2 separate regions of the Homo sapiens genome follow, and region 2 is linked to region 1. Evidence: promoter capture Hi-C in 16 types of primary human blood cells and fetal thymus (Javierre and others, 2016). All regions are on one chromosome and are shown on one strand. Each heading gives the region's core, a stretch centred on a gene start or on the middle of the fragment in contact. The rest is flanking DNA. Distances are from core to core; before and after follow the strand shown.

Region 1 (7,441 bases), core at 3,936-6,435:
GCAGCCATAAAAAATGATGAGTTCATGTCCTTTGTAGGGACATGGATGAAGCTGGAAACCATCATTCTCGGCAACCTATCACAAGGACAGAAAACCAAACACCGCATGTTCTCACTTGTAGGTGGGAATTGAACAATGAGAACACATGGACACAGGGCAGGGAGCATCACACACTGGGACCTGTCAGGGGTTGGAGGGCTGGGGGACAGATAGCATTAGGAGAAATACCTAATGTAAATGACAAGTTGATGGGTGCAGCAAACCAACATGGCACATGTATGCATAGGTAACAAACCTGCATGTTGTGCACATGTATCTTAGAACTTATAGTATAATAATAATAAAAAAATAAGACTATTGCCTGGCTCACAACCCAGGGAAGTCCTGGGAACCACCTTTTTGAATACAAACATCTAGAGAGATAGTTCCTCCGTCTCTCTCAGTTCCTGTGGGAGAGTAAGGACCTAACTTTGGTGGGCTCAGCTTTCTCCAATGTGCTAAACTACCTGCTGTTGTAAAGACAGAAGTTTGTTTCCCTTCAGTTACTTAAGACAGGTTGTCTCGCCAGTTACCAGGATAAAGTTAAGATGAACTAGTAGAAGAAAAGTTGCTGTCAGGCCCTCTTACTTGAGGCCTAGTTATTGTTTATCTTGAAAACATGTATGCATGGGCTGTATCTAATTGGCTGTATGAGGGGGTGGAATTCCTTTCTGACTTTGCAGCTTCTTAGTGGGTTGTCTGTGATGCTCATCATATTCTGGCTTATTGTTGTTCAATAATACCTACTTTCTCTACTACCGTTGTAGAGAAGATTTCTGAGCTGGGAGGAGATTTTGTTTTTAATTATATATCTTCTAAGAAGAAACTGTTTCCGAGGCTCTTTTTAATCTGAATGTTTATTTTCTGAGTTTTGTAGTTCTGACTTTGTGCCGGCTAACAACAAAAGTAACTACAACACAAATTATTCACTATTAGAAACATTCACTCAAACGTCCTTACCAATATAATACTACTATCTAGCCTTCTCCAAGATAAGTGCTTTGGTAGGCTAATCTTTCAATGGGTGTACAAATGAAAATTGATTGCTATTTTAGATTCTGTTGAAGATGCAGTAATTTATAAACTCGGTAAAAGTTATGTGGAACCACTGCTCTGATGAGTCATAAAATCACTAAAGAGTATGGCAGAGCAAGACCTATTAACGATTATGAAGGAGAAATCTATAATAGGGAAAACACTTGTTTGGCTCTCAAAAGTCAGTCCCAATGCTCTTCTCTCTAACCTTCTGCCCACTAATGTGTTTGAAAAAATGAAGTATTAACTTTCCCACCTACATGATCCAGGTCTGAATAAAGGGATGTCAGAGAAATAATGCTAGGGATGGACTAGGGAATAGGGATTCTGGGAAAATCTTCTTCCTTTATTTGAAAGAAGAGATGCACACTGGGTGCTCTTTGACAGCTTCACTTCCCTTCTCCACCTGTCTCCCTACTTCTCCCCATTTTCTGCCTTGAACAAAGTCATGATGCCTGGAGCTGTGGCAGCTACCACATTTTGAAAAGTCAATATTAGATTCATGCTTTGCCCTACAAATTGCCTGTGGTAATGTAACTTCTGTGAAGTAGAAAATAAAACAAATTGTTTTCATTTGTATTAATTTTCAAAAATAAAATCTCAATTTTGGGGATTGCTATTTACTATGAAATTTTTAATAGAATAAATTATTTTCTCCTTGGAACCTTTTTTACTCAGATGAGGACTGTCTACATTTAAAGATTTTCAGGCAATTACTTTTTTAAAGCTTAAAACTTTAAACATTCTTGCCTTTGCCCAGAAGAACTTCCCAAATAGATCTTTTAGTTACATCTAAATGTGAAGAAAATGCCCTTCCTCTGTTTGAGGGGAAAAAGAAAATTGTAAAATAACCCAACTGCATGTTTTACATGAAGAAGCTAAATGTTCTGTTTGGTAAGGTGAAACATCTCTGTGTCTCTGCAGAATTTATTTTATTTTATTTTTCAGATAGAGTCTTACTCTTGCCCAGGCTGGACTGCAGTGGCCTGATCTCAGCTCATTGCAACCTCCACCTCCTGGGTTCAAGTGATTCTCCTGCCCCAGCCTCCTGAGTAACTGGGATTACAGGCATGTGCCACCACAACCGGCTAATTTTTTGTATTTTCAGTAGAGATGAGGTTTCACCATGTTGTCCAGGCTGGTCTTGAGCTCCTGACGTCAAGTGATCCACCCACCTCAGCCTCCCGAAGTGCTGGGATTACAGGCATGAGCCACTGTGCCCAGCCTCTGCAGACACTTTTTAAAAAGAAAATTCTGTCTTTAAAGGTTTGGACAGAATACTCTATGTCATCAGTGGGAATGGGGCTGTGTTTCTGCTGAAGAGAATAGAAAACCCTACCAGCTATATTCCTGGGAAGCACCTGGATGCAGGGCCATTGGGACTTAGGCAATAGGTCTTCTACTGGAGGGAAGGAGAGTTGATTTCCTTTGATGTATGCAACTAGACTCTTCTTTGCTCTGAGGAAGCTGCCCCTGCTATGTGCAGGTGGCCCTATGGCCAGGAAGGGACATAACTTTTCATGGCCTTCGTGTGTTTGAGACTGAGTTGATGGGCTCTGAGGTTAACCACATCCCTAGCTGCAGTTAATTCAAGGCACTTTTTGTATTTCATTTCCCCATTCTAGAACCATTAGCAAAGTCTGCCAAGTTATAATCTTGTCTCAGGAAGGGTGTGTGGGAAATAGTCTGTGTCCAAGGCACCGAGGAGGGGAAGAACAGCAGAGTTAGGAGCTGCAAGAGACAGTGCACCTCAAGGGGGCCAAGGCCCTTGCTGGCTCCAGCAGCTCCTAGGGTGCTCTATAGGAATGGCCAAAACACCTGTGAGGCAGCTGCCTATAGAGGATGGGACTTTTTGCTGACCAGTAGGATAGATGGAGACTCAGAGTCATCATAATTTGAGCTATTAACAGAGAAGTGTGTCTCCATGGGATGCAGAAGTTGGGGATAAATTTGTTACACATGGTTAGTGGAAAAGCTGCTGGAGCCCCAGCCTCCCCCTCTGAAGTATTGGCTTATTTCTACCCTTTTCCTCTTGGGATGCTATGCATTCCATCAGGCTTGGCTAGAATCCCACATCAGGCGGGGTGACAGCTCCTCTTCCTGTGGACGCTGTGACACATATCCCAGGCCCTGCCATGTTTAGCCAGCACAATGGCAGTTTTGGTTTAAGAGAGTCACCCCCAAATAGCCTGGTTCTTAGGGTCAGAGTCACCACACGAGCTGATGTCTCTACATCCCTGCAGCACTCAGGAAAAGGATGAAATGGACAACAGGGACTCTTGTAAGTATTTGAGATAAAATATAGTTATTAGGGTATCTAGAGACATAAAGGAGCAAAGAAAATAAGGACTTACCAGATTGTCCACAGACTGGAGCTGAAAGAGAGTAAAGAGCCAGCCATCAGCGTAGGCGAAGAGTCCCGAACTATTCACCCTGAGAGCCCATACACTCATATGCTACTTCCAACCAAGAGGAAGAGAAACACGTTCCATTCCATCCATCCCAGGGAAGCGGGGAAACACAGTGGCCAGACGCTCAGGCTGTGGACTCAGACAGTCTGGTTTGAATTTTAGCTGTATGACCCAGGGCAAACCACATGAACTTTCAAGTCTCAGTTTTCTCATTTGAAAAATGAGGCTCATGAAAGCGACCTCATAGTAATACTGTAATGAGTTAGATCAGTAAGGTTTCAATTAATGGCTGCTGTCATTAATTTTTTAGTATGGGGCTGCTGCTGATTCCTCTTCTCTTGACTCAGAACACTTATTATCATAGCTAATTTGGAACTCAAAATGAGACAGACAGTAGAGGGTAGTAGTTAAAAGCCTAGTTTCCAAAGTTAGATTATGGGTTCGAATCCTGACTCTGCCACTGTACTAGCTGCATAAACCTCAGGGACAAGACCAACATCTTTGTGCCTTCATTTCCTCATTTGTAAATGGGAGTTATAAAAGTTCCACCTGATCAAATGTTAGAGAATTGGATACATTTATACATGGGGTGCCCTTAGAAAAGTGGGATGTAGCCAGGGCTTAGCACAAATTAACTGACATCCTCACACATTATCCTGTAACTATTTGTGTAATATTTTTCTCATATTGTCGAGTCAGATGTTCTTGCATGTGTACGTTGAGGTTCTATTGAGAATGTCACCTCTTGAGGGCAGAATCTGTGTCCTTCAGGTCTCTGCATCCTCTGTGGTGCCCAGCAGTGTGGCATGCCAAGTATACCCATCCACTCACTCCTTAGTTCCTATCATGTGCCAATCACACTAATAGGTCTTCCCTTAGTTGGGGTCTGGGGATCAGGTGGGAACTAGACAAATACGCTTAATAAATATTTAATGAACAAAAGACTGACTGTTCTTTAATTCCCTAGTTTGAGCAACTAGGAAATCCGTGCCTCATTTGGACAAACACTGACAAGTGGTACAAAAGCAGGAAGAAAAAAATCAAAGGGAAATCATCTTATCTCTTCTCTTCTCATGCTCTTTGCAAACATCAGAACAGGTTTGAACTTAGAATACAGAGAAGGAAATAACTATTCTCAGCAGGTGATCCTTTCTACCTGAGTTCACAATCAGGACTTTATCCTTCACAAATAACTCAGTCCATCTTTTCCTCTGGGTCCTCATGCTCTGTGACGTAGGGACTGAACCTAGCCATAGGTTTCTTTTTGCATAAACAAAATAAGTCCATTTGGGGGTAAAATGATTTTCCATAGGCAATTCATAGCAAAAATAGATGAGAAATACATCTTTGGAAATCAATTATTATCATTTTCCCCTTCTACCAGTAAATCATTATCTTTCCTTTTTGTTCATTTTCTGCTGTTCTAAAATGGGAGTAAAAATCCATGATTGCAGCAGCAGAAAAGAGGGCTTTTGCTCATGGTGAGGCTCAGCTTTGCAGCAAGCAAAGGTCTCCTCCCCATCACTTACCAAAGGCCAGCAAGGACGCCCACAGCAGCATGGAAGCCTGCTCCAGGATTGGAGAAGGAGTTCTGAGGAGACAAGCCAGGTCAGCCCAGATTGCCAAAGCAGCACTTGCCTACACCAGCACCAGCAGTGAGCTCAGTAAGCTTCTTCTCTGCATAAAGCTGATTGAGATAATGAAGTGAAAGGGGGAAGTAGAGGAATCTTTCTGAAAACACCAAACAGCAATGTGGACCAGTGTGAGAGAATCCAGACCACAAAAATCAAAATTTAATAGAATTAAGTACTGCTGTGACATCCTGGGGTGAATCACTTCTCAAGGCTAAAGCTACTCTAGTTTCAGAACTCTCTAGGCTCTGTCTTTCAAGGAAATCACAACCTATTCTCTCTGCTACTAGAGATGAGGTGAGATTGCAGGCCTATTGAAATCCACATAATCTAAGGATGTCCCTGAATATCCCCAGAGATGAAGAATTTCTCATTCAACACAGAAAAGGCCTCCTCTGACCGCTGATACCTCTACTGGAACACCTCCAGCAGGCCGTCTGTAGACCTGATGAAACATCTCAATCACAAGACAACTCTCACCTTGTCTGATATATATGAAAATATCCTGACTCATCAGTCCAGGGGGAAACCACAACTTTTGATCTGAGTAGAAGGCAAGCTGAGGAGTAAATTATAGCCCCATCATGCTCTTCCTAGATAATAGGCCATAACATTTTTACTTAATGTCCTAGAATCCAAAATTTGCTACAGGAATGTCTTGGCAAATATATATTGATTGAAATACATATGCCTGGTATCTGGTGGCAGAGAGAAGAAGTTGTGATTTCCTTGAAAGACAAGAGGCTAGAGAGTTCTGAAAATATGATGGCTTTAGCCTTGAGAAGCGATTCACGTCAGGAAGTCAGAGTGGGTATTTAAATAATTCTATTAAATTTTGATTTTTGCCATTTGGATTCTTTCACACTGGGCAACATGCTGTTTGGTGTTTTGAGAAACACCTAATGCTCTCCCTACCCATAACAAACCTGCACACTCTGCTCATGTATCCCAGAACTTAAAAAAAAAATTAAGAAAAAAATGGAAAAATCCGTAGTGACGTTTTTTGGTACGTATAATATTTTGGTATGTATAACTCTTTAAAACTTTTTTATGCTATTATCTTGTGTATATGTATGTGTATATATATATATATATATATATATATATATATATATATATATAAAATGTTAATGGCAAAAAAAAAGAAACACCATGGTGCTTCAGGTATGGTGCCAGGTGCTGGAAGTACAGTGTTAATCAAGACTTGGAAAGCTTTCATTCTGGTGGAGAAGACAGCAAGTCAACAGGAAATTACATAGAAGTGAATTGTATGTAATTTCTGAGAGTCCACTAAGAGGGAAATCTGACCCAGTTCTGGGGATGCATAAGAGGCTTCCCTGAGGAAGTAACATCCAAGCTGAAAGAATATCATTCTAGGACTGAGAGATGAGCATGCACTAAGATGGAAGGCAGTTATCGTGACCATCACCATCACATCAAGATATCTGTGAATAGATAATAGACATAGGATGGATTAAGAGTGGTCTGTATTTTTCTAATATAATGTTTTTCTATATATCTGTAATAATTTATTTTCTAACTAGGGTTTGTATTGAACATCAACTATATTTTAGACAATGTCCATGGCCTTAGAAGAATAAAAAGGTGAATAAAGTGCATCTCTCTTAAAGACTTTAAAAAAGTCAATGTGGTAAGGGCCAGAGTAGACATAGACACAAGGAACCATAAAGACATAGAGCTGTCAAGGCGGCACATGGGTCCTTTGTCTCCTTGCCGTGTGACCGTGCTGTCATCTTTCAGCTGCCTTCATTTGTCCCAGGAGGAGCAAGGGTATAAAATGGCAGTCAAGAACCTGATCTGCAGAATCCCACACATCTGGATGAAATCTTGACTTCACCTCTTGCTAGTTGGGTGACTCTGGTCAAGTACTTAGCCTCTTTCACACTGGTAAAAAGGAGATAAAAATAATGTCCAGCTGAAGTGGATGTTGTTATTGATGTTTGTATGAATACATTAATGACATAGAACTCTCAGCTTAGTCCCTATGCTGAGAACTATTCTGTAATACTAGAAGTAACAAGTATAATGAACTAAAAAGCACTTTATAATTGACATAATATCCTACCAACATTTTTGTATTCCTTATAACACTGGAAAATAGTATTTAGCATGAGTTTAGAACTCCAATATTTATTGACTGACTAAGGATTGAGGGAAGTTGAAATCATATTGCCTGTTTTCTTGTTTCTACCATAAGTTTTGCTGAATGAATAGATTTCAATTAGCAAAATAAAATTTCACATTTATGATGTTATACAAGATGTCCAAACACAAAAATCATATTTATTTACAACTACTGTGTAA
Region 2 (7,366 bases), core at 276-2,775, 210 kb after region 1:
AAGTAACAAAATACCCACAGACCTTGAAGAAGAAAAGGAAGTGCAACTCACCGGCAGGTTCACAGAGTGGAGCTGGGAGAGAATTCAGCAGAGATCAGTACAGAGCAGCAAATCCCACAAATCTCCAAAGTTTAAATCCTTTGAGAGCTTCCCCAACACCACACCCTCCATCCCCTGGACCCTCCCTGCATCTCTCTCTTCCTCCCTCTTTCCCTCTTTCTCTCTTCTCCCCTTCCTTCTTTCATCTTCTCTTCCTCCCTCCTTATCTTACCCCTGCTTCTTTTCTTCTTTCTCTCTGCTCCTTTTCCCATATTCTGCATCACCCACAGAGCACCTGCCCACAGAACAACACATCGTTCTTTTTTATGATCACAAAGTAATTGCCAATGACTTGTGTTGTCTGTGACTAGGAGGTGGCATCTTTGCTAACTACTTAGCAGCTCCTTCTTCAAGCTCCTCATTCCCATTCCCACCGCCTCCTTTCAAAAGTCTTGAGGATCCAGCTTTGGATTGACTCTCTCAAGGGAACAACAGAGTCAGGCAAGGAGAGTGCACAGCCTCATACTCAAGGCATAGAGACCCTTTGTTTACCAATTTCAGATCAGAGGAGGCTTAGGTCCAGAAAAGGAATTCAAATTTCTCCAAAAATTCTCTTCTATCCCAAGGACTTGACCATAATATTATGGCTCAATGATCAAGAAAAAATAATTCTGGGGAAAATGGAGGCTTTGTAGCTGGATGACACAGATTTGAGTACTGGCTCTTCCTCTTACAAGCTGTGTGACTGTGGGAGAAATGTTTCACCTCTCTGTGCTTTAGTTTCCTTGTCGGTAAAGTGTAGATAATTGTGGTACCTACCTCACAGAGTTTTTGTGAAGATTAAGGAGCTTAGACTAGTGCCTGGAATTTACTTATTCAGTAAATATTGTGTCATTACTATTATTTATTTTAGCCAAGCTTGGTTTGAGATACTTACTTTTTCTTAGGTTAAATGTTTACTTGAATAATTAGTTCCTTAGGTAGGAGAAAAGTGTCAATAGGAGAGAGCATAAAATCATATTCCATACACTTGTCCATACAGCAAATAATTTGAAGTGCTCACTGTATGCCAGACGTTGTGCATGGCCCTGGAGTGATGGGAGTAAACATGAATGACAATCTTTGATGTCAAGAAATTCATATTATAGTGGTAGAGAGCCAATTTAAAAATAAGTATATAATATTCTTTCAGAGGGTGATTGGTTCTCTAAGAAAAATAAAGCAGAGAAATAAGATACAGAGCATCTTAAGATGGTCTTAACTGTTTAGATAGATTTAGATAGATTCAGTAAAAACCTAAATGAAATCAGGAAACAAGCCTTCTGAATATTTGGGAAAGAGCATCCCTGGCAGAGAAAACATCGAATGCAAGTATCCTGAGGAGGAAATACGCTTGTACAAGGAGGAATGAGAAGGCAAGGGCACCTGGAGCTGACCAAGTAAGGGGGCAGGGGTTAGTTATCGGTGTCTGAGAAATAGGAAGGATCCAGTCATGGGCACTTTATGGACTTGGCAATAGTTTTGGATTTCATTCTAGGTGTGATGGGGAGCTATGGACAATTCTTACTTAATTTACAATATCACTCAGACACTGTGAGGAAAGCAGTATAGAAGTGAAAGAAAAGCAGGGAGAACGTTAGTGGGAATTTAGTGTAGGAGAGTAAAGATAGTGGCTAAGATTAGACAGTGCTGGTGATATGAAGTGGTCAGACTTTAGTATAAATTCTGAAAGTAGAATTAATAGGAATTGCTTATGGATTAAATAGAAAGTGCAAAAGGAGAGAGAGGGGAATTAAGTATGACTCTTAGATTTTTGGCCACAGCAACTGGAAGAATGGTAGTGACATTTCCTGAATTGGAGAAGTTGTGGGGGAAAATAGGTTAAGTTTTGTGGTGGTGGTAGTACAGGTGGAAGATCAAGAGATCTGTTTGAGTTTAAGATGCCTGTTAAACACCTGATGTTAAGTTTAAGATGTTTATTAAGATGTCTATTAGATACCCGAATGCAGTTAAGTACATAAGAGGTATTTAAAAGAGAGGTGAAAGCTGGAGAAATAAGCTTGCATTTAAGCTTAAAGTGGCACATGAAGTGACATAATTATATAATTTGGGGAAGTGAGTATGGATGAAGTCTAGGTATCAACTTTGAGGATGTCCAACATTTTGAGGTCAGCAAAAGATCCAAGCCAGATGCAGTGGCTTATGACTGTAATCCCAACACTTTGGAAGGCTGAGGTGGGAGGATTGATGGGGGCCAGAAGTTTGAGATAAGCCTGGGTGGCAAAAAATAAATTAATTAATTTAAAAAAAAACCCTGTTTGTAAAAAACAAAAACAAAAACAAAAACAAACAAAAAAAACCACAAATGATTTGGGGGAGATGGAGTTTCACTCTTCTTGCCCAAACTAGAGTGCAATGGCACAATCTTGGCTCACTGCATCCTCCACCTCTCGGGTTCAAGCGATTCTCCTGCCTCAGCCTCCTAAGTAGCTGGGATTACAGGCATGTGCCAGCCACCACACCCAGCTAATTTTGTATTTTTTTTTTCTTTAGTAGAGACTGGGTTTCATCATGTTGGTCAGCTTGGTCTGAACTCCTGACCTCAGGTGATCCACCCACCTTGGCCTCCCAAAGTCCTGGGATTACAGACATGAGCCACCATACCTGGTCAAAAAATTGTTTTAATTAGCTGAGTGTGGTTGCATGTGTCTCTGGTTCCAGCTACTCAGGGAGCTGAGGCAGGTGCATCACTTGAGACCAGGAATTCAAGGTTGCAATGAGCCATGACCATACCACTGCACTTCAGCTGGGGCAACAGAGTAAGACCCTGACTCTAAAAAAATTAAATAATTTAGCAAAGAAACTGAAAAGTAGCAGATACTGAATTAGAAAGAAAGCCAGCAGAATATGATATTCCAGAAGCCAAATTAAAAGTGTTTCAAAAAATAAAGAGTGATCAAATGCCCCTGAGAAATTGAGTAAAATAAAAAATTAAAATTGACCCCTTGATGCAGCAACATGAAGATGGTTGATGCTATGTGCAAGAACAGTTTCAATGGAGTGGTAAGGATGAAAGATTGATTTAAGTGGGTTCAAGGAAGAATGAGGAAGAAGTGTAAGGACTTAAATGAGTTTACCAGGGGTTAGGAATGGGAGAAGATTTGACCATAAAAGGGAGTGAGGGCATAAGTAAATTTCTTTTTCTTTTTTCTTTTTTTTTTTTTTAAGACAGAGTCTCTTTCTGCCACCCAGGCTGGAATGCAGTGGCATGATCTTGGCTCATTGCAACCTCTACCTCACAAGTTCATGCAATTCTCCTGCCTCAGCCTCCTGAGTAGCTAGGACTACAGGCTTGCACCACCTCGCCTGGCTAATTTTTGTATTTTTAGTAGAGATGGGGTTTCACCATGTTGGCCAGGCTGGTCTTATACTCCTGACCTCAGGTGATCCACCCACCTCGGCCTCCCCAAGTGCTGGGATTACAGTCGTGAGCCACTGCACCCAGCCGGGAAATTTTTGAAGGGATGAAAATGTCCTGTATTTTGATTCTGCTGGTGGTTATATGGATCTAAATCTTTGTCAAAAATTATAGACAGTCTTTCAAAAAAGTAAATCTTAATGTAATGTAAATTAAAAATAAATATTAAATAAAGAATGAAAGGAAGTGAAGCAAAGACAGCAATTCACTGAAAACTTTTTGTTTTATTTTACTTTTTTGAGACAGGATCTTGCTCTGTCACCCAGGCTGGAGGTCAGATCACTGCAGCCTTAACCTCCTGGGCTCAAGTGATCCTCTTACCTCAGCCTCCCAAGTAGCTGGGACTACAGGCATGTGCCACAATGCCAGGATAATTATTTATTTTTTATTTTTTGTAGAGACAAGATTTTGCTATGTTGCCCAGGCTGGTCTGAAACACCTGATGTCAAGCGATCCTCCCGCCTCAACCTCCCAAAGTGCTGAGATTATAGCATGAGCCACCACACCTGGTGCACTGAAAACTTTATAAAGGGAAACAGAAAACTTGTGTAGTAAATGGAAGCCATATTTCTATTATTTTAAGAGAAAAGACATTGTCGGTGATGTCGGCAAGATGGCTGACTAGAGGTGTCTATTACTCATCCTCCTCCCCGCCTAAAAAAAGACTGAAACAATAAGGAAACAACTACATTTTGACTGGAGTGTCTAAAGGAGAGCACTGAAGTACAGCAGGGGAATGGCAGAAATCTTGTGGATCACAGAAACTCAGGATGGCTACATAAAGAAGGGAATGGAACCCTGCAACCTGCCTCTGCAACTCTGTCTCCTCAGTCAGGATCAGCTTGGAATGCAGGCTGGGATTCAAGCCTAGGAGGGGCTTTTCCCTGAAAACAAAAGGTAAAGAAGTCCCCAGAAGCCCCCATTATATCTGTGGACACCAGCAGTCTTTGTTGCTGGAGAATCCTGCAGTTCTCACAGGACCTAAGTCCAGTTTTGGAAGCTGCCTGGAGTTCATATGGCTGCATTATTCTAGAGTAAGAGCCCATACTGTGGCTCCTCCCATCCCATGACCCAAGCTACTACTGCACAGCACCATCTTGAAACTAGAGCAACTACTAGAGTGTGTTCTGTTCCTGGGGGCAGTAGTCACTGCATCTTTTCATCCTTGAGGCTTCACCATCCTTGCATCATGCTTACACACAGTAGTACACCATTTGCTAGCCAAGCTTCCCTGCTTCCTAATCCATGGGAACAAGCTGTCTAGGAATCACTCCATTTTCTCCATCCTAGTGGCTTCAGTGCCCCAACCCCAGGGACTCAAAACCTAGGCTCAGGGGGACAGCTGTGATCCTGTCACTTGAGTCCACATGACACTCTGCCCTGCCAAGGAACAGGCTGTCCTGCCCAGTGGAGAAGTCAAGCCTTATCCAGAAGACCAGCCATGTGCCTGCCTCCTTGGCATATGACCCAGTCAGGCATCCTGCCCCTAGGGAAGCCACAGCTGAGCCAGCAGACCAACTGCATGCTCCCTTGGTGTGAAAACCAGCCTGGCACCTCACCCCTGGGGAAACACAGCACCTGCCAATCTGTATTACTCTGCCCTTCTCAGCCAAACAGCCTAAGTGTCCTGCCTGAATCTGGACTAGCCCTCTGAAGCCTGAGCTGCTGAGGCACACCATTTCCTTGGTGTGATGGTGTGATATTGGGGAGTGAACCCAATATTGCACTGTTCCCTGCTCTCCAGAGCCAAAGCCACAACTGCATCCTATCACCATTCCAGGGTCTTTCCGGTCACTACACCTGGCATCACAGAGCAGGGGCCACTACTGTGTCCCACCACTCCAGGGTCCAGAGTCACCAGTATGTAATACACTCTCTCCTGGTGCCTAAGTTGCCCCTGTGTCTCATTGACTCTGGGATTTGATTTGTAGTTGTGATCTGCTTCCCAGTATCTGAGCCTTTGGAAAGCCCTTTATCCTTAGAGCCATGATAGTGCTGTATCTTGACCCCCAGGATCAAAGTCACAGGTACAACCTTGCCTGTTGGGCCTGAGATACTGGGGAGTGCTTCAGAGTCACATTCTTTGTCTTGGTGGAAGAGCTGTGTCCATCTATACCTAAGACAATGAACCTGCATCCAGGCACAGATGCCATAGTAGTGGCACTGTGTGCAGGACACTGAGTGCAGGACCACAACCACCTCAAGCATCTGTGCCCTGGAACATAGTACTACCATGCCTGCCTGTGACCCATGCCAGGGCCAAACACCAAAAGACACCCTCTCAGGTATGATGGTCTATGAGGAAAAGAACAGGAAGATCCCTAAAGCTCTTGCCACTGAGAACTGTAGCAATCTATCTTGCCACCACCACCCTCACAAACTCCTACAGCCTAGGCCACTGAGGCACACACAAGCATTGCTGACATTGATTGCTGCTGAAGAAGTTACACAGAGACCACACTACTATGCTCACCTGGAACCAAACCAATGAAACTTCCTAAACTAAGGATCCATCGGCACCCTAGGATCAATCTGCAGGTGAAAGTCTTTTCTTACAAAAGCCACTCTATAAAATTGAAAAAGGTGACTCTTCCACCAGATGCACAAATGGTAAAGCAGGAACACAACAAACATGAAAAAGCGAGAAAACATGACACCAATACAAGAACAAAATAATTTTCCAATAACTAACTGGAGATTTATTAATTGCCTAAAAAATTCAAAATTATAATCTTAAGGAAACTCACTTATAAGAGAATACAGATGAAAAGTTCAATAAAATCTGGAAAACAATTTATGACCTAAACAGGAAATTTGAAAACATATAGATATCATGAAAATAATCCAAACAGAATTCATAGAGCTAAAGAATTAAATGCATGAAATAAAAATTACAATTGAGAGTTTCAACAGCAAACCAGATAAAGAAGAAGAATTTCTAAACTTGAATATAGATCTTTTGAAATAACCCAGTTAGCTGAGGAAAATTTTTTTTCGAAAGTGAAGAAAGCCTACAGGACTTATGGGACACCATTAAGTGGGCAAATATTTGTATTATTAGAGTACTAGCAGAAAAAGATATAGAGAAGGTTTTGGAAAGCATATTTGATAAAATAGTAGCTGAAAACGACTCAAGTCTTGGGATGGATATGAACAACCAAATCCATGAAGCTCAAAAATCCCCAAATAGATTTAACCTGAAGAGGTCCTCTCCAAGGTCATTATAATCAAATTGTTAAAGGTCAAATACAAAGAGAATTCTAAACACAGCAAAAACATCAAGTCATACATAAGAGAATTTCTATAAGAGTATCATCAGATCTATCACCAGAAATCATGCAGGCCAGGAAAGAATAAGATGATATATTCAAAGTGCTGAAAGAAGAAAACTTTCAGCAAGAATACTATACACAGAAAAGCTGTCTTTCAGAAATGAAGGAGAGATAAACTCTCACCCACACAAGCAAAAGCTGATGGAATTCAAGACCACTAGACAAGCCTTAAAGTAACTGCATAAGAGAGTGTTCCAGCCAGAAGTGAAAGGACAATAATTACTCCACGAAAACATGTGAAAGTGTACAATTAACTAATAGAGGTAAATTGATCATTAAATTCAGAAAATCTCATTACTGTAACGGTGATTTGTAAATCTTTCAAATATCTACTATGATGGTTAAAAGTCAAAATGGTCAATAATAACTATAGCTGTGATAAGTTGTTAAGAAATACACAATACAAAATATGTAACATAAGGCAACAAAAATATAAATAATGGCGGCAATGGTAAATGTCTAGACCAAAGTTAAGCTGTTATCAGCTTAAAGTACTCTATTATAACTATAAGATTTT

What was found. The method cuts DNA at HindIII sites, captures the fragments that hold promoters and counts their contacts. A CHiCAGO score of 5 or more calls a contact.
Region 2: a fragment that was not itself captured here is called in contact with the fragment with the promoter of FCRL4 in region 1 in 1 of 17 cell types (total B cells); the score reaches 5.3 in total B cells.

The regions. Positions count from the first base shown.
Region 1 is chr1:157,592,900-157,600,340 of GRCh38, forward strand. FCRL4 (Fc receptor like 4) reads right to left here and starts at 5,186. Exons shown (of 12, transcript NM_031282.3): 1 at 5,015-5,186; 2 at 3,429-3,449. The coding sequence starts at 5,045. The HindIII fragment of the contact is 1,174 bases long and covers 5,153-6,326 here.
Region 2 is chr1:157,807,051-157,814,416 of GRCh38, forward strand. It overlaps FCRL1 (Fc receptor like 1), which reads right to left. Exons shown (of 11, transcript NM_052938.5): 2 at 52-72. Among named protein-coding and RNA genes, the nearest start is that of FCRL1, 9.4 kb to the right of the region's middle. The HindIII fragment of the contact is 1,141 bases long and covers 956-2,096 here.